6 separate regions of the Homo sapiens genome follow, and all the other regions are linked to region 1. Evidence: promoter capture Hi-C in human tissues and cell types (Jung and others, 2019). All regions are on one chromosome and are shown on one strand. The core of a region is centred on a gene start or on the middle of the fragment in contact, and the rest is flanking DNA. Distances in the headings are between cores, read along the strand shown. Region 1 holds the start of PSAT1 (phosphoserine aminotransferase 1). Region 2 overlaps GNAQ (G protein subunit alpha q). Region 3 overlaps GNAQ (G protein subunit alpha q). Region 4 overlaps GNAQ (G protein subunit alpha q). Region 5 overlaps GNAQ (G protein subunit alpha q). Region 6 overlaps GNAQ (G protein subunit alpha q).

Region 1 (3,090 bases), core at 492-2,991:
TGGCTGCAGGGGATGTCTTAGCAGATGAGACAATAGCCACCGCCACCCCACCCCAAATTCCTGTGCCCCTAGTGGGATACAGAAGTAGTAGGTTGCTCATCAACCCAAGCAGCCACATCAGCTTGGGCAGTGGAAACAACTCAGCCATATCTTTTGGGAACAGAGGACCAAATGGATGTGCTGTCCCTTCTCCCAACCCACTACATGGGACTGTGTATAGCCCTGGTGTTAGGAACTAACTCCAGGAAGGATGAAGGCTGACTCCCTTAGTCTCCAGTAGATAAGCTGCTAGGGGCAGCTACTAATATATAATAACTGAGTTATTTACGTAAAATAATGGATATGTGATGCTTCTTGCATGCCTGAGTTTCTGGGCTGAGATTTATTCTGTCTTGAATGTCGCGGTTTTCTTAATGAAGTTGCTGAGGAACGCAGGGGCCTTGTTCATTTTGCCTTTTTCTGGAAACTTTGTCCTCCAATTCCCAGATCCAGAGCAGTGCCTCTGCTCTCAGCCCCATACCGCCCACATTCTCATTAGGAAAAGCAAACAAAAGCCAAAGTCCTGTCCAGTTACAAGCCTTCTCTAAACGGGGCAGTTGGACTGTATATATTCCTGGCGCATCAATTTTACTCAGACAGGGAAAATATTTTTACATTAAAAGAAACTAGGTTAAATTATGGTAGAGAATGCAAAATTCACAGTTTAAAAATGATGAAATTCCAGACTTCAAAGGAACTTCTTTCTTGCAGGGTAGGGGGAGGGTATTCTGTTTCAGAACCCCATGCGGGTCTCCACTGGAGTTCTTTTGAGAAGGACACTTCTGTGGAAAAGTTTGAGCAGCTCTGGCCCTGCGCCTGGCCTGGCTAGGGGCCACCTTCTTCTGGTTTGGGCTGCAGCGCCCTATGGGTATCGCGTTCTTGTTAATATCTCCTCACGTTTCTAAACTCACAGCTTGTCAGCGCGGGCGCAACCTGAGAGCTGTCGCAGGTTTCCAGCTCACTCGTTTCCCAAAGGAGGAAATGGAGAATCAGCGACTTTAAAGGACTTGCCTGGCGGGCATCCACGCTTCCCAGGCTATCGCTCCTCCCTGCGTCCTTGGCCACCTCCGTTCTTTAATCCTGCAGGAACTCAGGACCCACGTGCAAATACAAAGAACCGTATCCACCCACCCCCGGCCCTTCTTCATCCTGCGCTTCCAACCTTGGGGGGGTCCTCTCTCTCCACTGGGGTATCTGACGCCCGTGGGGGGTGCTTAGAAAAGTTTGGTAGATTAGTGACTGGTGGTTCTGGAACAAATACATCACAGCCCAAACTGGGGGCTGGTGGTGGAGAGGTGGGTGGATGGGGGCTACAAATCTGCTCGGCAACTGCCCTTTCAGCCAAGAGAGAGGAGCTGAGGTCCTCTGGGGTTGGAGGACTGGAACCGGCCAGATTGCGGGCTCAAGGGGCGAAGGCAGGTTGGCAGGGGCAGCCTCTTCCCGCCGCCCACAATCCTCGGGCGGGCGCGCAGCCGAGCCGGCTCGGCTGGCTGGCGCAATCTCGCGCGCTCCTTGCATTGATCAAAAATGGGGGTTGAAACAGTAAACGCGAGGAGGAGCAACTGCTTCGACTCGGCTCAGAAGCGCGACCAATGGGGATGTGAGCTCCTTCGCGCGAACCAATTAGCGCAGGGCCTGCGACAGCACGGGCCAATGGGGCGCCGACTCGGCGCAGGAACAAGGCGGGGGTTCGGGGCCGGCTGCAGACTCTCACCGCAGCGGCCAGGAACGCCAGCCGTTCACGCGTTCGGTCCTCCTTGGCTGACTCACCGCCCTGGCCGCCGCACCATGGACGCCCCCAGGCAGGTGGTCAACTTTGGGCCTGGTCCCGCCAAGCTGCCGCACTCAGTAAGTCCCCGCGAGCGGGCGCCGGGAGTGAGGTTCAGGCGGGAGCACGCACGCGGGTGGGTTTGCATCCCTGCGTGTGGCAGTCGGATTCCCGCTCCCTGCCTTGAGTCCCCTAGGCGCTTTGCATCAGCGTGCACAGCGGGATCAGCAGCTCCGGCAAGCGGGCTTCGGGAAGAATGCAGTTGGTGAGGAAGCTCGGCGAGGCGTGCCCGTGCAGCTGCCCCTGGCCCTGACTGCTGGTGCGAGGCAGTGCACGACTCAGCTGGCCGGGGCCTGCTGTCCCGCCGGTGCCACGCACCTGCAGACGCCCGGGCTGTGCCATCTCCTGGGCCGGTCCGGGGGCTGGGGCGGGGCGAAAAAGAAAAAGCTCTGATCTCTGCCTTCGCCTCGCGCAGCTGTGCGGCGAGCCCGGGCAGTGTGGAGCGGATGCATGAATGGACATAGTGTGAATGAGTGATGAACGGGAATGAACCGATGACAGGTTTTGCATATGCAGTGGATCACGTTAGCTGAAAGGGATTGCAAACTTAAAGGTCCGCGTGTGCGTGCCCCCCTACGCCTTACACCAGTGTTTGCTTTAGCCAGCACTTAGGAACACTGCTTTTCAGAAATGTAAATTTGAAAACCTTCAGTCCAGCTTTCCCCTCCTTGTCCCCCATAGAACCTACCCTTTCCTAAAGCCTTTCTCCCCACCCCCCTCCTTTTTTTAACCTGCTTGTCCCCTAAAGGCGTTCGAGTATTCTAACTCTGGTAGACTTTGGGCTGCTTAACCCAATTCCCTGTTCATTTCGTTCTGGAGTAAACCGAGTGATTGAATTCTCTCCCGGGCCACAATCAGATCTTGCTGGTGGAACTCACTCTCTGCCTTCCCAGGCCCCAGCCCGGCTCCTCCCCTCCCCCGCCAAACCCACCGTCCCCAGCCCCACCCGCAGTGAAGAAGGCAAAGTCTCCGATGTGCCTTGAGCCCATTGTCAGGCGGCTGCCGCCGCCGTTAGATTTTTATTTTTCTAACCAGGATAGAGCTGATAATATGTTGGAGCAGCATGAGGCATAGCCAAGTATTTTACAATTATCAATTGTTGAGCAGAGTAGAAATCTCCCTGGGACAGAGCCTCCTCTGTGTTGTGGTAAGAACAGAGAATCCAATTTTAAAGGGGAAAGGACTTCTTACTTTTCTAGGGGCAGCGCTCACAGTAGCTGAGA
Region 2 (3,333 bases), core at 286-2,785, 330 kb before region 1:
CCCTATACAATTAGCCTGATGCGACAGCCAATTTAACATTTCCTGACATGGAAGAATACAATTAAGGCCAACTTAGAAACAAAAAGTCATAAAATGTAGATGATGGAAGAGAGGTTACATTATATATAATACAGATTATACTAATGTATGTTTTATATAAGTACATACTATGAATTTTACTAATACACTAACAGTTTTAAATATCGCACAGCAAAATCTTCAGTAGTTTGAAGAGCACTGGAAAACAACCCAGCTTACTTTCTAGCCACATCAACAGTTCAACACTATGGATTTTCCAGGAAATTGGGGGCAGCTCTTTCTTTAAATATGTGAAGGCATCAAATTCATATATCCATCAGGCATGTAATGCATGCCTACTAAATGTAAGGCAAAAGGAGCAAAGTGTTGTCTTAATTTCAGGCATGCATTCCGTAGACACAGAGACCAGTACCCATTTCTCTAACTCACCACCAAATTCTTCATGAGCAACTTCATGAGCCAAAGATCTGAACCTTGTTACGAAAGTGATGGCTTATGCCTGTAATCCCAGCACTCTGGGAGGCAGAGGCGGGCAGATCACCTGAGGTCAGGAGTTTGATACCAGCCTCGTCAACATGGTGAAACGCTGTCTCTACCAAAAACACAAAAATTAGCCAGGTGCAGTGGTGCACGCCTGTAATCCCAGCTACTTGGGAGGCTGAGACAGAAGAATCGCTTGAACCCGGGAGATGGAGGTTGCAGTGAGCCCAGATTTATGCCACTCCACTCCAGCCTAGGCAACAGAGCAAGACTCCATCTCCACAAAAAAAAAAAAACAAACAAACAAACAAAAAAAACTGACTGAGTCACAAACTCCTCCTCTCTACTCTGCCCCGTGCTCCTGCTCAGTTCCACATTGCAAACCTGCATCACATCTGCCCTGGACACAAGTTTTCTTCCCAACTTGATTCAGTGTTATCAAAAAGTTACCAACGGCCCAACTGCACACACACATCAGGAAGAGAGGCACCTATGGCTTTTCAAAGGCAGTATGGTGGGCTATAATCAAAATCTGGGGTTGAAGGCAGGGGCAGTCCTCTTCCCATTCTGCCTATTCATCCTTAAAACATTAACTTTAAAAACATAGACTAAGATTTGAAGGGAGAAATAAAGATGTTCTTTGAAACCAATGAGAACAAAGACACAGCGTACCAGAATCTCTGGGACACATTTAATGCAGTGTGTAGAGGGAAATTTATAGCACTAAATGCCCACAAGAGAAAGCAGGAAAGATCTAAAATCAACACCGTAACATCACAATTAAAAGAACCATAGACTCAAGAGAAAACAAATTCAAAAGCTAGCAGAAGACAAGAAATAATTAAGATCAGAGCAGAACTGAAGGAGATACAGACATAAAAAACCTTTCAAAAAAAATCAATGAATCCAGGAGCTGGTTTTTTGAAAAGATCAACAAAATAGACCCCTAATAAAGAAGAAAAGAGAGAAGAACCAAATCGATGCAACAAAAAATGATAAAGGGGATATCACCACCGATCCCACAGAAATACAAACCACCATCAGAGAATACCATAAACCCCTCTACACAAATAAACTAGAAAGTCTAAAAGAAATGGATAAATTCCTGGATACACACACCCTCCCAAGACTAAACCAGGAAGAAGTTGAATCCCTGAATAGACCAATAACAGGTTCTGAAATTGAGGCAATAATTAATAGCATACCAACCAAAAAGAAGTCTAGGACCAGACGGATTCACAGCCGAATTCTACCAGAGGTACAAAGAGGAGCTGATACCATTCCTTCCGAAACTATTTCAATCAACAGAAAAAGAGGGAATCCACCCGAACTCATTTTATGAGGCCAGCATCATCCTGACACCAAAGCCTAGCAGAGACACAACAAAAAAAGAGAATTTTAGGCCAATATCCCTGATGAACATCGATGCAAAAATCCTCAATAAAATACTGGCAAACCAAATCCAGCAGCACATCAAAAAGCTTATCTACCACAATTAAGATGGCTTCATCCCTGGGATGCAAGGCTGGTTCAACATACGCAAATCAATAAACGTAATCCATCACATGAACAGAACCAACGACAAAAACCACATGATCGTCTCAATAGATGCAGAAAAGGCCTTCGACAAAATTCAACAGCATTTCATGCTAAAAACTCTCAATAAACTAGGTATCAATGGAACGTATCTCAAAATAATAAGAGCTATTTATGACAGACACACCGCCAATATCATACTGAATGGGCAAAAACTGGAAGCATTACCTTTGAAAACCGGCATAAGACAAGAATGCCCTCTCTCACCACTCCTATTCAATATAGTATTGGAAGTTCTGGCAAGGGCATGGAATGTTTTTCCATTTGTTTGTGTCCTCTCTTATTCCTGAGCAGTGGTTTGTAGTTCTCCTTGAAGAGGTCCTTCACATCCCTTGTAAGTTGTATGTTGTATTCCTAGGTATTTATTCTCTTAGTAGCAATTGTGAATGGGAGTTCACTCATGACTTGACTCTCTGTTTGTGTGTTATTGGTGTATAGGAATGCTTGTGATTTTTGCACACTGATTTTGTATCCTGAGACTTTGGTGAAGTTGCTTATCAGCTTAAGGAGATTTTGGGCTGAGATGATGGGGTTTTCTAAATGTACAATCGTGTCATCTGCAACAGGGTGACTATCATTGAATATTACAAGGAAAGTTCTAGCCAAAATAATAACAATTAAAATGAAAAAAAAATACTAGAAACAAAATCATTAGTATTTGGGGATGATATAATTGCTTTTCTTTAAAAAACCCAAGAGAAAAAACTATTATAGAATTAAGAAAGTTAAGAAATATTCTACAAATATTAATCGTGCACGCACCATGGCAAATCCTGAGGCAGGTACTAGGGACACAACAGTGAGTAAAAAGAGGGACCCAGGATGCACTGTAGAGTCTAACAGAGAATAAAATTAAAATATAAGTTTCTCATACTGTTTTTTTTTCCTTTGTTCACAAAACAAATGCAAGTAACATCGGTTCCATTTTCAGGCAATTCAGTAAATGGGCTTCATAAGCCCACTAATAAATGTGAAAAACCCAACAGCTTTTCCATAATAAGTAAGTACTAGTTACAAGATACAATTTAAGAAGTCTATTCACTACAACAATCAAAAACAAAATATAAAATAACTAGGAATAAATTTAACAGGAAACGTAGGACCCATATAAATAAAAGGACAAGATTTCATTTACTGGCCAGTTACGGTAGCTCACACCTGTAATCACAGCACTTTGGGAGGCCGAGGCGGGTGGATCGATCACCTGAGGAGTTCGAG
Region 3 (3,129 bases), core at 293-2,792, 410 kb before region 1:
GATATACAATGGGAAAGTCCACAGCCACTAACACAGGGCTAGAGAAGATGGCCAAATGACATGGAATGGTATTCACCACGAGGTTCATGAAAAATGATGTGTTGAGATCCAGTTTTTGGTGAGATAGAAAAAAAGCATAGGAAAAAAACTAGAAAGATACTATTTTAGAAGTATTCACAAGCCTATCAGGAAATGACACTTGATGGGATTTTTTTTTTCGTTTTCACTTGTCTGTATTGTCTAAATTATTTTTGTAATAAACTATTTTTAAAGTGCCTTTGTGCAGATGAGATACACAGGAATATGTTACTGTTTCTGAGGGAAACTATCTGAGCATTTAACTTATTCTCATGATTTCCATACCAATAAGTCTATTGTTGTTACCAAACACATATATCAAAGCCATGTCTAAAAGAGTTAGCACCCTTCTGAGAAAAAAAGCAAATTCTTAAAATCAAAATGCAAACACTTCAGTTCACAGCTTACTAACCCAAGAAACCATCTTACAAGAGAACAGATGTGATTAGTGAAATAAATTGTTTAAGTTACGGGGAAAAACATAGTCGCTGGAAGTTTAAGTAGGGACATGTTCCAGCAGTTAACTGAAATATAACTGATGTCCCATCTCTCCATTTCTCTCTATAAATAAGTCTTTACCCTGACTCTCTCCAGTGTGTCCCCAGCTAGCCTAGCCTCTGCCAGTGGCCAGGGAAGTGACACTGTGCCCTATATGAGAGTCTCCAGATGGTTACAGCAGCATCAAAAACATCCAGACACCTCATGTACCTTCATTCTCATTGCCTGATTTAGAGAAAAGAAACTTATGAATCAGAGTAGAGTGCTTTTCTAGGTAGGCTGAGGAACAGTGGTTACTTCTGACAGAGAAAAAAGGGGGTAGTTTTTTTTTTTTTTTTCCAAACCTTAGGTTCTGTGTTGTTGTTGTTTTAATTTTAGACTCAGGCAGTACATGTGCATGTTTTTACATGGGTATATGGCATACTGGCGGGGACTGGGCTTCTAGTGTATCCATTCCCCAGCTAGTGAACATTGAACCTATAGGTAATTTTTCAACCCTTGCCCCCGCCCCCACTCTCCTCGCTTTTGGCATTCCCAGTATCTATTATAAGGCTTGGGTTTTAATATACCTGCTTCTGCACTGAGTCTGTGGACCAGGGTACAATCAGAGTTTTTGGTCTCTAGGAAAATGTGCTCTGTCCCATGTGGTCACACCCTATCTTTGCTTCCTCCACTTACTCCAAATCCAAACTGTCTAGTCTCTGTTCCCTGTTCATTGCCCACCAAAGTAGTTTTGATAATTCATGAAGTAGAAACTGCCAAGTTTATTTAACACTGTCACAGGCTCTCAAATTCTTCTCAAGATTTTGGTATTTCAGAAAAACAGGTTTAACTGAAGACAAGAGGATGTCTTTGACCAACAAGTATGCCCTCAAAACAGAAATGGAGGGAGAATTCTCTAACTGCAGATAAAATCTCAGGATGGGTGGCTGCTCTGGGTGAGAAGCAAATAATGCAACAACTGACAAAAAGAGACAGCCAGCCCAAGAAGATGCTCAGAGCTACTAGCATTTCTATAGCTTCAGAAACACTCTCAGGGTTGGAACTGGGAGGGGAAAAAAGATTCTCTCTGAAGCTGTGTAGGTGACTCCTCCAGCACTTGCTTCTGGCAAGCCCCTGTGGGGGTGTGAAGGCTTGTTCTAATCCAATCTGCCTGCTGAGCCAGCTGCCTTGAGGACCACTATGTGCCAGTTGTCTCTAATCAGTCTGCTGGCCATTTTGCCTGACTTCTCTGTTCTGCTATATTTCAGAGGAAGAGAAAATGCAAACGACTATTAGGAAACCAAAAGAAGGCTTATTTCAAGCGGGAAAAAATTTTAAAGCATGAAAGAAAACAATGAACGAAGCAAGCTGCAACAAAAGTGCGACTTCCCATAATGGTGAATAAGGAGTTAGGAATCTGAGTTAGGAATCCTAGCTGCAAAGCCAGAGATGCCTGGAGAATAAGTTCTCCACCCCACCCCCTCAAACTGAAGCTAAAACTCCACCTATACCTGTTGTCATCATTGGTGGCTGCTCTTAATAAGGTCATTCTTTCCTAAGGAGGACAGGCTGTGGCTGTTCACTCGGGAAGCATAGTTTGCATCTCAGTACACCCATCTACCCCATCATAGTCTAAGTTTCAATCAGCATTCCCTTAACTATAAATGTCTCATTTTACCTGGGAGAGGTCAATGCCCCAAGGGCACTGTGAGTTAAGAAACTGGTCAAGAATCAGCAATCCCTTGTAGGTGTCAGAGTTCAGAGAGGGAGATTTTGAAAAGAAAGTACTATTCTCCTTTGTAGCTTTGTGATCTTGCGGAAATACACCCATTTCTCAAAGCTTTATCTGTAAAATGGAGAAAATAATGGAACCCACCTGCTGGGTTTCTAAAGACTAAATAAGACTACACAGATTCCTGGCCTATACCAAGCTGTCCAAAGTCAGGGACTATTACTGTTACAGTAATAACAGAGTTTCGGATGGGTTTTAGAGATATTTGTCCCATACCTTCATTTTGTAGCTAAGAAAACCAGAGGTAAGGGCAATGAAGAAATGTGCCCAAAGTTGTGGTCTTTTTTGGAACCTCCCAGTGCCTCATCATGCAGGAGTACCCTGACAGAGGCCTAAACTCTACTCAAGCTCAGGAAGTCAGCAAGCTCAAGGAGCCGGGGAAGGCTGAGACCAGCCAGGCACACAGCCAGGTGAAAATGAGGATGCAAGCAAAACTCCAAGAACAAACTGGAATTCTAAGTGAGCTTTGCTGAAAAGTGAGGGTAGTAGGTTTTAATGAACTATTTTCTTTCTATTTGTTAAGGGGAGAAAAAAGCAAACACATACCAACAGGGTCGGCCCTGTCCAGCACAACTCTCTGAGAGTTAACTGTGCTTTAGCAACTGAGTTCAGAAAGGGAGAAAAGTATAAATTAGATTTCTGTTTAACTTTCCCAGTAGCTACAGCATTCTACATTTACAGCCCACAAAAACAATCCTTTGCTTTTAAGAGTTTGAAATACCAGGCCCCAAATCTGAGGTTACTGTCTCAGTACGGATGGAAAGAAAAGCCTCTTTCCA
Region 4 (3,298 bases), core at 211-2,710, 390 kb before region 1:
GTGCATTTCATTATCCCAAGACTGCAGTGGTAATTAAGATGCCTTCCCTGGCTCCTAACAAAGATATCGCCATGGGAAATGGTCAGAAAATGGACAAACACCCAGCACTGCCAGATGCATCACTACATGCACCAACCCAGAACAGCAGGAAAGGAGGCAAAGAAAGGGAAATAAGGAAAGAAAGAAAGAATATATGAGCTTTCCTATAGAAACTCTGCCTTGACTGCACATTAAAGAACTAAATAATTTTGTTAAGTATCTTGCCTCTCCAATGAGACTGCAAGTCCCCATAAGCAAAGTACATGTCTTACACTTCCTCTGGCTCGAAGAGAAATGAAAAATACTTGGTGGCATTTTAAAAATTATTTAAGTCGATGTGAAGTGTGTGGATTAACAAAAAACATAAAGAACAAGTAAAAGGAGTGTACAGTCAAGAAGGAGAAATCAAATAGGTGGTATCAGAGTTAAAAGTTTAAAAGATCCATAATAATAGTGGTATCATGTAATCGGCTCTCTGATTAAATACTGACTCATTCATTCCATAGTATTTACTGAGCCTAACTGTGGGTCAGGCCCTTTGCTAGGTCCTGGGGACACGGCAGTAACTTTAGCTGGCTGAAGTGGTGGAAAGACAGCTGGAGTGGCCACAGGTAACTGCATTTACTCTTTTGCACAAGAAAATTAAATACATGTGTCCTAGGTGCCAAAGGTGTTTATGGAGTCAAGTATACGAGCTGCCTTTAGGGAATTAAGCCTAATTCTGGGTTGGGCTTAATCCAGCCCCATAAACTTAAAAATTGAGTTATTTGGGGCAGGTATTTTAAACATTTTTCATCTGTAGAATTAGAACACTACTACTTACCTCACATTTTGGAGCATATTAAATGAAAAAGGCCCAGAAGTGGTTGGCTAAAGTTATTTCTCTCCCTTTTTCTTCTGTCCCTTTGCCTCTTTCGTTATTCGACTATCTGCCTCCTTCCTTACCTTACAAACACCCTGCAGTCAAGGGAAAAAAGTTAAGACTCCTTTATCTCAGCAGTGACAGAAATCCATGAACCCCTTCAGAAGGGCCCCCACTTTCATTGACATTCTGATGCCTTAAATCCTACCAGAGGCCAGCCACTGCTCCCAAGAAACCACTGTTGCACCGGATCATGGAACCCAAGTCTCATTCTTGGATCATAGCCTCTTGTATGTCTTTAAACAATAAGCAATTTCTTCTCAAATACTGTGCACTTTCCCCAAACAGATATACATTTCTCCTGACCTAGCACTTTCTGGGAAGAATTCAACAACCATTTAGTAGACACTGACTATGTTGATGTTATTGTCCCAAAAGTTTTGCATCTATATATTGTCATTAATGCTCACACTAACCATACAAAGTGAATACTATTATCTCCTCACATTTCCGACAAGGCATAGCATGGAGAGTTTAAATAATTTGCTGAATGTCTCATGGCCAAAATCCTATTGAAGTATTTTCTGGGATCTTCTCTCCAAAAGGTAGCCTACTGGTGATTTCATATTGCCTCTGGTGGCAGAGAGTCAGTTACTTCCAAGAGGCCTTTACTTTGGGCTGCTTCAGCATCAGCTTGTGAGGAAAGCAGAATCTCAGGCCCACCCTGGATCTACTGAAATACAAATATGCATTTTAATGAGAGCCTCACATGATTTGTATACATATTCAAGTTCGAGAAGCAATACTCTAGAACACAAAATCAATGTTCTCAACCTCACATTCAGTTAGGAAGACCCAAAGCTGTCATCACTGGAATATGTGGCACTTCTGTGCATATGAGAATAATGTACCCACCTCTCCACTTTCTGTTTATAGAGTCTGGCAAAAAGAGAGTGCTGTAGAGAGAAAAAGGCACCCCTTCCTCTGGGCCACCATTCTCCTCCATGGCTGGCAAAAACTGCACAACACTGATACACGCCACCCACAAAGCATATGGTATTGATTATTTTATGCCAAGGATCAAGGTCAACTGAAAGGTGAATCTAAAAGTATTTTAATCCCCAACTTTAGTGAGGTACTTTGACTGCAGTGTTCCATTAATACAATCAAACAGCTACATGATCTCATCCTGTTGCCATCCACCAGCTGCCCAGTAGATAGTAAAATGGCTAGAAGACGGTCAAGAGAAGAAAGACTAGGCTAGTGCCTTAGAGAATGCACACACAATCACCTAATTAACTGAACTCTTACCACAGAAGCACTGTTTTTAAGGACGTTTCACCACCTCACAGGGAGGCCAATATCGACAACACTCAGTACAGTCTTCTTTTTAGTTCAAAACCGTTATACTTTTTACCACAAAGGAAGTGTGCACATTGACAGAAGCAGATAACCTACCAGCCAATCCAATACTACTGCTCATCTCAGCGGGGATATCACATTTCTTGATATATGCCAGTCCTTTCAGTTACATTTCAGTTTTAACAAATAACACAAGATAGTAAAAAAAAAAAAAACAACAACTGCATATGCATCTTACAAAGTGGTAGCAACAACTTAAAGGTATCTTCTTAACAAATTCACTTTAAGAAACATAAAATCAGGAAAATAAAGGTGGTAAAAGTATACATTTATACGGGAAAAGCCAAAATGAGTAACTGCAGCTATTAATGAAGAGCTTATTTTTTTCTCTCCTGAAAGGAAAAGTATCATAATATAACATGAAATGACACAAAAAGTCATTTTTTAAAGTGCATTTCTTGCTGATATTCATGTTTGGATATACATGCTTGTACTAATGAAAATCATGAGTAGGTTAACAACATACTATTTAAAAACATAATTGCATAGCAGGTGTAAGTAATTTAGGGCAAAACAATATAATAAAGAATAAGACTACAATTCCTGAGAAGCAACAAGTTTTTAGGTTTTGATACATGCTATTAAAATGAAGGAAACTATTGCTTTGCTAAATATTAAGTAAGCACTACCCTGATTTTCTACAATAGCAAAAACTAAGTGCATCACTGAGATGACTTCTCCAGTGGCGTAAAAATGAGAAGGAAATGCCCCAGCATTTCTCATATCCTCCCTCGACCTCCATTCAGGCATTCACTTTCCTTGGCTCCAACAAATATATTCTGCCTAACTGAAAATAGATGCATTGTTTTAAAATTAACAAGGGAAAACAATACATTACTTGGTTTAAAAGAACAAGGAAAGTATTCATCTGATGCTTTGCCAGGAGTTAACCAAGAACAGCCAAATGACCAGCTTCACAACTTCCTACTAAAATGCGTTAAACTATGCCACATGTGTTTTATATGGTGGCTGTCA
Region 5 (3,025 bases), core at 353-2,852, 350 kb before region 1:
TCTGCAGTGATCCATCACTCTGCTTTGTGAGTACTGTGATATACTTGCAAAATGGTTGGCTGGACAGAGCAGAAACAGAACTGGCATGCTGGATGAAAACCACAGCCTTTACATTAGTAACCCTTGTCCTAATCAATGGAAACAAAAAATAATAAGGCATTCCCAATAGATTTCCTGGGAAACTCACCAAAAAGTAGAAAATCAATCAACACCCCACCACATATATTCCTCATAGTCCTTGACCTCAGGACCCTAAACACAGTAGAGGATCAAAGAAAAAAGGGTAATGCATAATTATCTCAACTGCACCCCTTCAAATATCCACATGTAGAAAACTTTTAAAAATAAAGACACTTGAAATCTACCAGAATATGATCAATAGCTGTGTCTGGCTTGTAAAAATACAGGTTATATTATCTTTTTGTCTGTATTTTACAAATTTCTAACAAGCATTTACAAATTAAATTTTAAGCAATCTTTGCAATCCTTGCAAATCTGCTGCACTTGGATCCAATAATTAACCAACTGGTTATTTGACTGTAAATGAGTGAATTTACCTTTCTGGTTTTCATTTATCATTAAATGGGCTGGGAATGATGACTTCTTAATGGATAGAAACAAAATCCATGAAAAAAGAGTACTATTTTTAGAAGTTCCACTAGTCCCAGTTAGCACATAAGACTAATAACCTCACAAGGCAGATGTTGGGCATTGCAGAACCCATTTCTGACCTCAAAAGCTCTCAGGTCAACATAGATTTGAAGATTATTCTAACCCAGGGAACCAAGGAAAGGGCTCCCCTCAGGGGTTTTGGTTCCTGAGTCAAATTTGAGCCTCAAGATCATTTTAAAGCCAAGCTACAAACCACAAAAGAAACTTAAGAGATATTAACTACAGTATATACTGACACATGTTCGACGTGTCTTGAGAAAAGGAAAAATATGTTGTAACAGATTTGCAAATGTAACATGACACGGGCAAGAACACTGGGAATGTTAGTCCCTTTTCTGCGATTAAAATGTTTGACTTTCAGTAGTCACAGGAATAATATGGGTCACAATTCTCCCATATTTACAAGAGTCAGACTGGATAAACTCAAAAGTGTCTTCTCTTTCTATAATGATATAAATCTCTAGTATGCACATTCATGTGAGACCACTCTTAATTAAAGCTTGATTTCCTCTACTACACAAATTGGAAAAAAAAATAAAGTACCTTTATCCTGGAAGTAACTAACTTTTTTTTTTTTTTTTTTTTTGAGACGACGTCTTGCTCTGTTGCCCAGGCTGGAGTGCAGTGGCGTGATCTTGGCTCACTGCAACCTCTGCCTCCTGGGTTCAAGCAATTCTCCTGCCTCAGCCTCCCAAGAGTAGCTGGGATTTACAGGTACACAACACCACGCCTGGCTAATTGTTGTATTTTTAGTAGAGATGTGGTTTTGCCATGATGGCCAGGCTGGTCTCCAACTCCCTACCTCAGGTGATCCACCCACCTCAGCCTCCCAAGGTGCTGGGATTACAGGCGTGAGACACAGTGCCTAGCCAGTGACTTCTTATTTTAAAATTGTCCCATGTGGTGTTAGGCAACTACCAGAATACTGCTTTAGAAGAACATTCAATAGTGAGAAAATATGTTCCTCATATATTAGAAGAGAAAACAGGCAGGCAGTATGAACGAATGATACCTGTTCAAAATCTACTGATTCATTCAGAATACATACATAATATTAACAATAGGATATCTGGCTAATGGCAATACTAGTACTTTTTTTCTTAATCTTTTCAGTATTTCAAAAATCTGGTACATTTGAAAATAAATTACTTTCATAATCAAAAACTATAATAAAAGCATTTTAGAATTATTCCAGTGGGGCTCACAAATCTTCCGCCATACCAGATCACCTGGCTCCATCAAACAACCAATAGAGGCTGTTTTATGAAGCTGTGTATACAAGATGCAGGTTGTCACTTAAACCATTCATTTAAAACACTCAATCATCCTTGCACCATCAAGCCGCCTCACCCCATATATCCTCTTTAGACCAGAAACCAAACCATTCCTATTCCCTCCTCCACCAAACTTACCATTCAGCAACCTCTGAGGCCCCTCTGGTCAGGCCCAGTAGAAAATATGTTTGGGAGTAGGTGGAAGTTCATGGGACCCCTCACATAACTCTGTGAACCACCATTTCTTCCACTGAGGCATTGCTCCAACCTCTGCCACTCATTGTAACGCAAGAGAAATCTGGTCTGCCACTTTGACACTAACTTAGCTTGCCCAGTGTGAAATTAACTGTGTAAAGTACAGTAAAATATTCAGTGAACACAAGATGACACACTGCCTCTTTAAAGCAGCTGTGATTCCATAATTACCTGTTTGTGATTGGAGTGACAAGAAGATCTGAATAATTCAGGTATTCAGAGTCTAAATACTTTACGAAACAGCTAGTTCTGGAAGGATATAAATCCAAAGAGAGCAAAGGAAACAAGGGAGAGCCACTCTGCTCATGTGGGCTGTCCCATCCAAGAACACCAGGGGTCTCAACCCACCGCAGAGAATTCAGCAAGGCGGCTGGGGAAGCACAAAGGTCTGTCAGCTTTCCAGTTCCTTCTGAGTCTGTCTTCACAGTGCAACTTCCTTATTTGTTTGAAGTATTGTAAATTCCGAGAATATCAGGCACACCCATACTCAAATGTAAGTAGAAAAACACATCGCAAAGCCAAATACAAATTGGTTCTTGGGCTATTAACTGGGGATCATCCATCAGATAAGGCTGATTTTCTTCTTTTAAGTGTTTAATGTGGCACCTTCACAAAAGAGGTAAATCTATTTGCCAGCTTTGAAAATGTAGCACTTGAAACAGATATGAAGTAGCTATAAAGTTGCTTTACTCAAAAAGTAAGAAAATAAGTAGTTTAAAAAAAAAGAGAGAGAGAGATTTCTTAAATTCCACACTGCTTTGTTACCACTAAACTAAATGTACTGCCTCAGGTTGTGTCTGTCTGGGTTATGATTACATGCAAAA
Region 6 (3,118 bases), core at 172-2,671, 280 kb before region 1:
GAAGCATCAAAGAGATAGCAGGTACTTCATTCATTTAACACCTACTTACTGGCACTTGACATTGATATTCAAAACAGTGCCAAATCAGCATTGCAGACAAGAGATTTGGGCAAACCACACAAATAATGGAGAGATACAGCAATTAGAGGGAAGCTAACAGCTTTGGCAGAGAAACAACAAAAATTCAATTATGAATGATTGGTGTACCTAAAGAAGAAAAACAATTCCTGTGGAATATTAAAAAAAATTCAATGATAAAATAGGCAAGATCCTTGAAATGAAAGAATATTATAGAGATGGAGTGGGTTCAGTGCTTCAAGATAAATAACAAAAATTATAAAACACTGAAGCATAACCTGGATACGTTGTTAAGCTTTCATGTTATAGAAACAAATAACCAAATTTTTAAAAAAGCAAATCACAAAGAAAAAATATTCAGGCTGGCCACAGACTTATCAAATCTATCTGCTGGGAAACAATGGAGAAAAATCTACTACGTGGCAAGCAAGGTAGGTAAAAAAGAGGTCTAATCCAAGAATTCTATACCCATGCAAGTTGTTATTAATATGTGCATGCCACAGAAAGGCATTTTCTTTTTTTTTTTTTTTTTGAGACGGAGTCTCACCTTGTCACCCAGGCTGGAGTGCAATGGCACAATCTCAGCTCACTGCAACCTCCACCTCCCAGGTTCAAGTGACTCTCCTGCCTTAGCCTTGCAAGTAGCTGGGATTACAGGTGCGCGCCATACAGATAGAGTTTCACCATGTTGGCCAGGTTGGTCTCGAACTCCTGACCTTGTAATCCACCCGCCTTGGCCTCCCAAAGTGCTGGGATTACAGGTGTAAACCACCTCACCTGGCCTCGGAAAGGCATTTTCAAATACCCAAGAATTCAGGAAATATATCACCCATGGACCCATCATTTAAAAACCTATCTGAAGGTATAATCTAGCCAACTCATAGATAAAAATAAATAAAAGCATATAATTAAATTGAGAGAAGAAATATTTGGTGATAAGCATTTAAACACAGAACTAATGCTAAATATGCATCTTAATTGCAGACACAAATATATATATACATATATGTACACAATTTCTCAAGGAAAACAGAATAAGTGATAAATGACAATATACTTAAATGAGGTTCCTTAGGTTTAATTATAATGATTCCCTGTGATCATCCCTGATATTCAATATGAAATCAAAGGGCTAAGAGTTTTAGAAAGTGTGAAAATAAATAAACTCTAGGTATGAAATTTGAGAAACTACTACAGAATCACTTTCAAAACATTAAAGATCACATTGGCTGCAAGATCAAATATTAACTTGATGCTAGCAGAGATGGACAAAAGACAGTGAAGAAAGGGGGCGTAAGTGGAAAGAAGAGTAAACTACTTCAGGATTAAGAGGGCAGAAATAGGTGAATTGCTAGGAATCCGTAATCAGGAGGAAGAACAGAATAAAGGAAATGTAAGTTAGAGCAATGAACGTGGCAGTGATCTGAACACCATAAACACCTCTCCTTCCATCTGACACAAATACCCATATTATATTGAAATTAAGGTAATTTCAATTTTATGCTTAGCCTTTTAATAACCATCAATAAATCCTAGACTTCAGAAAGATGCCCTTAGCCATTGACAATTTTATGTTTTTCTTACAAGACTTTTTTTTTTTTTATTATACTTTAAGTTTTAGGGTACATGTGCACAACATGCAGGTTAGTTCCATATGTATACATGTACCGTGTTGGTGTGCTGCACCCATTAACTCGTTATTTAACATTAGGTATATCTCCTAATGCTATCCCTCCCCGCTCCCCCCACCCCACAACAGGCCCCGGTTTGTGATGTTCCCCTTCCTGCGTCCATGTGTTCTCATTTCTAACAAGACTTTTATCATTTTATATATCCAATGTTGCCTCTGAGAAGACTATTAAGAAAATAAATATATAAAATAAAATGTGTTGATGTTATTACTAACCACGAAGACTTAGAGAACCATTCTAAGTCTGGTATTGCTAATTTGTCTATAACAGACAGGAACAAAAAAGTTAATACACGCAAATAAAATACCACAAAAAGCAGAAAATGGAGTAATCAGAGGTTGGCAAATACCTGCCAGAATGCCAAATCCTGCTTCTGTTTGTTTTTGTAAATAAAATTGTATTTGAACATAGCCATACTCATTTATTAACAAACTGTTTGTGGCAGAGTTGAGTAGTTCTAATAGAAGCCATATAGCCCAAAAGCCAAAAATGTTTACTATCTAACCCTTAAAGTTTGCTGATGATCCTTGGTATAGGTGAAAAAAATTTCCCTCCCATGCAGGGGAGGGACATATAATACCATTTGATCTCTGAAGATGATAAACTGAGAAACATAAATTGAATATGACTACTAAAAGTTATATAGGCTACCAACAGTAAAATTAAAAGCAGAGTACATACCTTTCAAATTATCAGTGTGGAAAGCACAACAAACCCAATACAAATTCCAAAGGAGTGAGAAAGAGAAAAGGAAATAATGGAGGAGGAATAGGGGTAGCTGCAAGAAATCAAGAAAGAATCAGAAAACAGAAATCAGACGCCAATACACCCTAACATTATTCATCATACATCAAGTGTAACAAGAACAAACTCAACTATTTTAAGAAAAGATTCACTCAGGCTGAGGTTTAAAAAAACAAAAACTTTAGGCCAGGCGTGGTGGCTCACTCCTGTAATCCCAACATTTTGGCAGGCCTAGACGGGCAGATCACGAGACCAGCCCGACCAACATGGTGAAACCCCCCTACTAAAAATACAAAAATTAGCTGGGTGTGGTGGTGCATGCCTATAATCCCAGCTACTTAGGAGGCTGAGGCAGGAGAATTGCTTGAACCCGGGAAGCAGAGGTTGCTGTGAGCCGAGATAGCGCCACTGCACTCCAGCCTGGGTGACAGAGCCAAACTCCGTCTCAAAACAAAACAAAACAAACTTGTGAGGGTAGCTAAAACAAAGAATAGTTGAAAATAAATGAGAGACATACATCAAGTAAATGTAAACAACAGAACAATATTAATAACGATGCTGAGTTCAAGATATAATAGCATTAACTTACATAAAAGGTAATGCGG

Evidence for each region. Contacts are between HindIII fragments. The study calls those that stand out against the background at their distance.
Region 2: a fragment that was not itself captured here is called in contact with the fragment with the promoter of PSAT1 in region 1 in 1 of the 25 tissues and cell types used here (hippocampus).
Region 3: a fragment that was not itself captured here is called in contact with the fragment with the promoter of PSAT1 in region 1 in 1 of the 25 tissues and cell types used here (aorta).
Region 4: a contact is called between a fragment that was not itself captured here and the fragment with the promoter of PSAT1 in region 1, in 1 of the 25 tissues and cell types used here (hippocampus).
Region 5: a contact is called between a fragment that was not itself captured here and the fragment with the promoter of PSAT1 in region 1, in 1 of the 25 tissues and cell types used here (adrenal gland).
Region 6: a fragment that was not itself captured here is called in contact with the fragment with the promoter of PSAT1 in region 1 in 1 of the 25 tissues and cell types used here (hippocampus).

Annotation. Positions count from the first base shown.
Region 1 is chr9:78,295,384-78,298,473 of GRCh38, forward strand. It overlaps PSAT1 (phosphoserine aminotransferase 1), which reads left to right and starts at 1,742. Exons shown (of 9, transcript NM_058179.4): 1 at 1,742-1,887. The coding sequence starts at 1,828. RefSeq lists enhancers at 828-1,097, 988-1,571, 1,572-2,155 and a silencer at 2,108-2,347. The HindIII fragment of the contact is 7,295 bases long and covers 1-3,090 here.
Region 2 is chr9:77,969,421-77,972,753 of GRCh38, forward strand. The region is part of intron 1 of GNAQ (G protein subunit alpha q); the gene reads right to left. Among named protein-coding and RNA genes, the nearest start is that of GNAQ, 61 kb to the right of the region's middle. The HindIII fragment of the contact is 6,234 bases long and covers 1-3,333 here.
Region 3 is chr9:77,882,561-77,885,689 of GRCh38, forward strand. The region is part of intron 2 of GNAQ (G protein subunit alpha q); the gene reads right to left. Among named protein-coding and RNA genes, the nearest start is that of GNAQ, 150 kb to the right of the region's middle. The HindIII fragment of the contact is 5,721 bases long and covers 1-3,129 here.
Region 4 is chr9:77,907,220-77,910,517 of GRCh38, forward strand. The region is part of intron 2 of GNAQ (G protein subunit alpha q); the gene reads right to left. It overlaps LOC107987081 (a long non-coding RNA gene), which reads right to left. Exons shown (of 2, transcript XR_001746758.3): 2 at 1-3,298. Among named protein-coding and RNA genes, the nearest start is that of GNAQ, 120 kb to the right of the region's middle. The HindIII fragment of the contact is 4,825 bases long and covers 1-3,298 here.
Region 5 is chr9:77,942,424-77,945,448 of GRCh38, forward strand. All of the region lies in intron 1 of GNAQ (G protein subunit alpha q), which reads right to left. Among named protein-coding and RNA genes, the nearest start is that of GNAQ, 88 kb to the right of the region's middle. The HindIII fragment of the contact is 3,237 bases long and covers 1-3,025 here.
Region 6 is chr9:78,011,646-78,014,763 of GRCh38, forward strand. The region is part of intron 1 of GNAQ (G protein subunit alpha q); the gene reads right to left. Among named protein-coding and RNA genes, the nearest start is that of GNAQ, 19 kb to the right of the region's middle. RefSeq lists a silencer at 686-838. The HindIII fragment of the contact is 6,830 bases long and covers 1-3,118 here.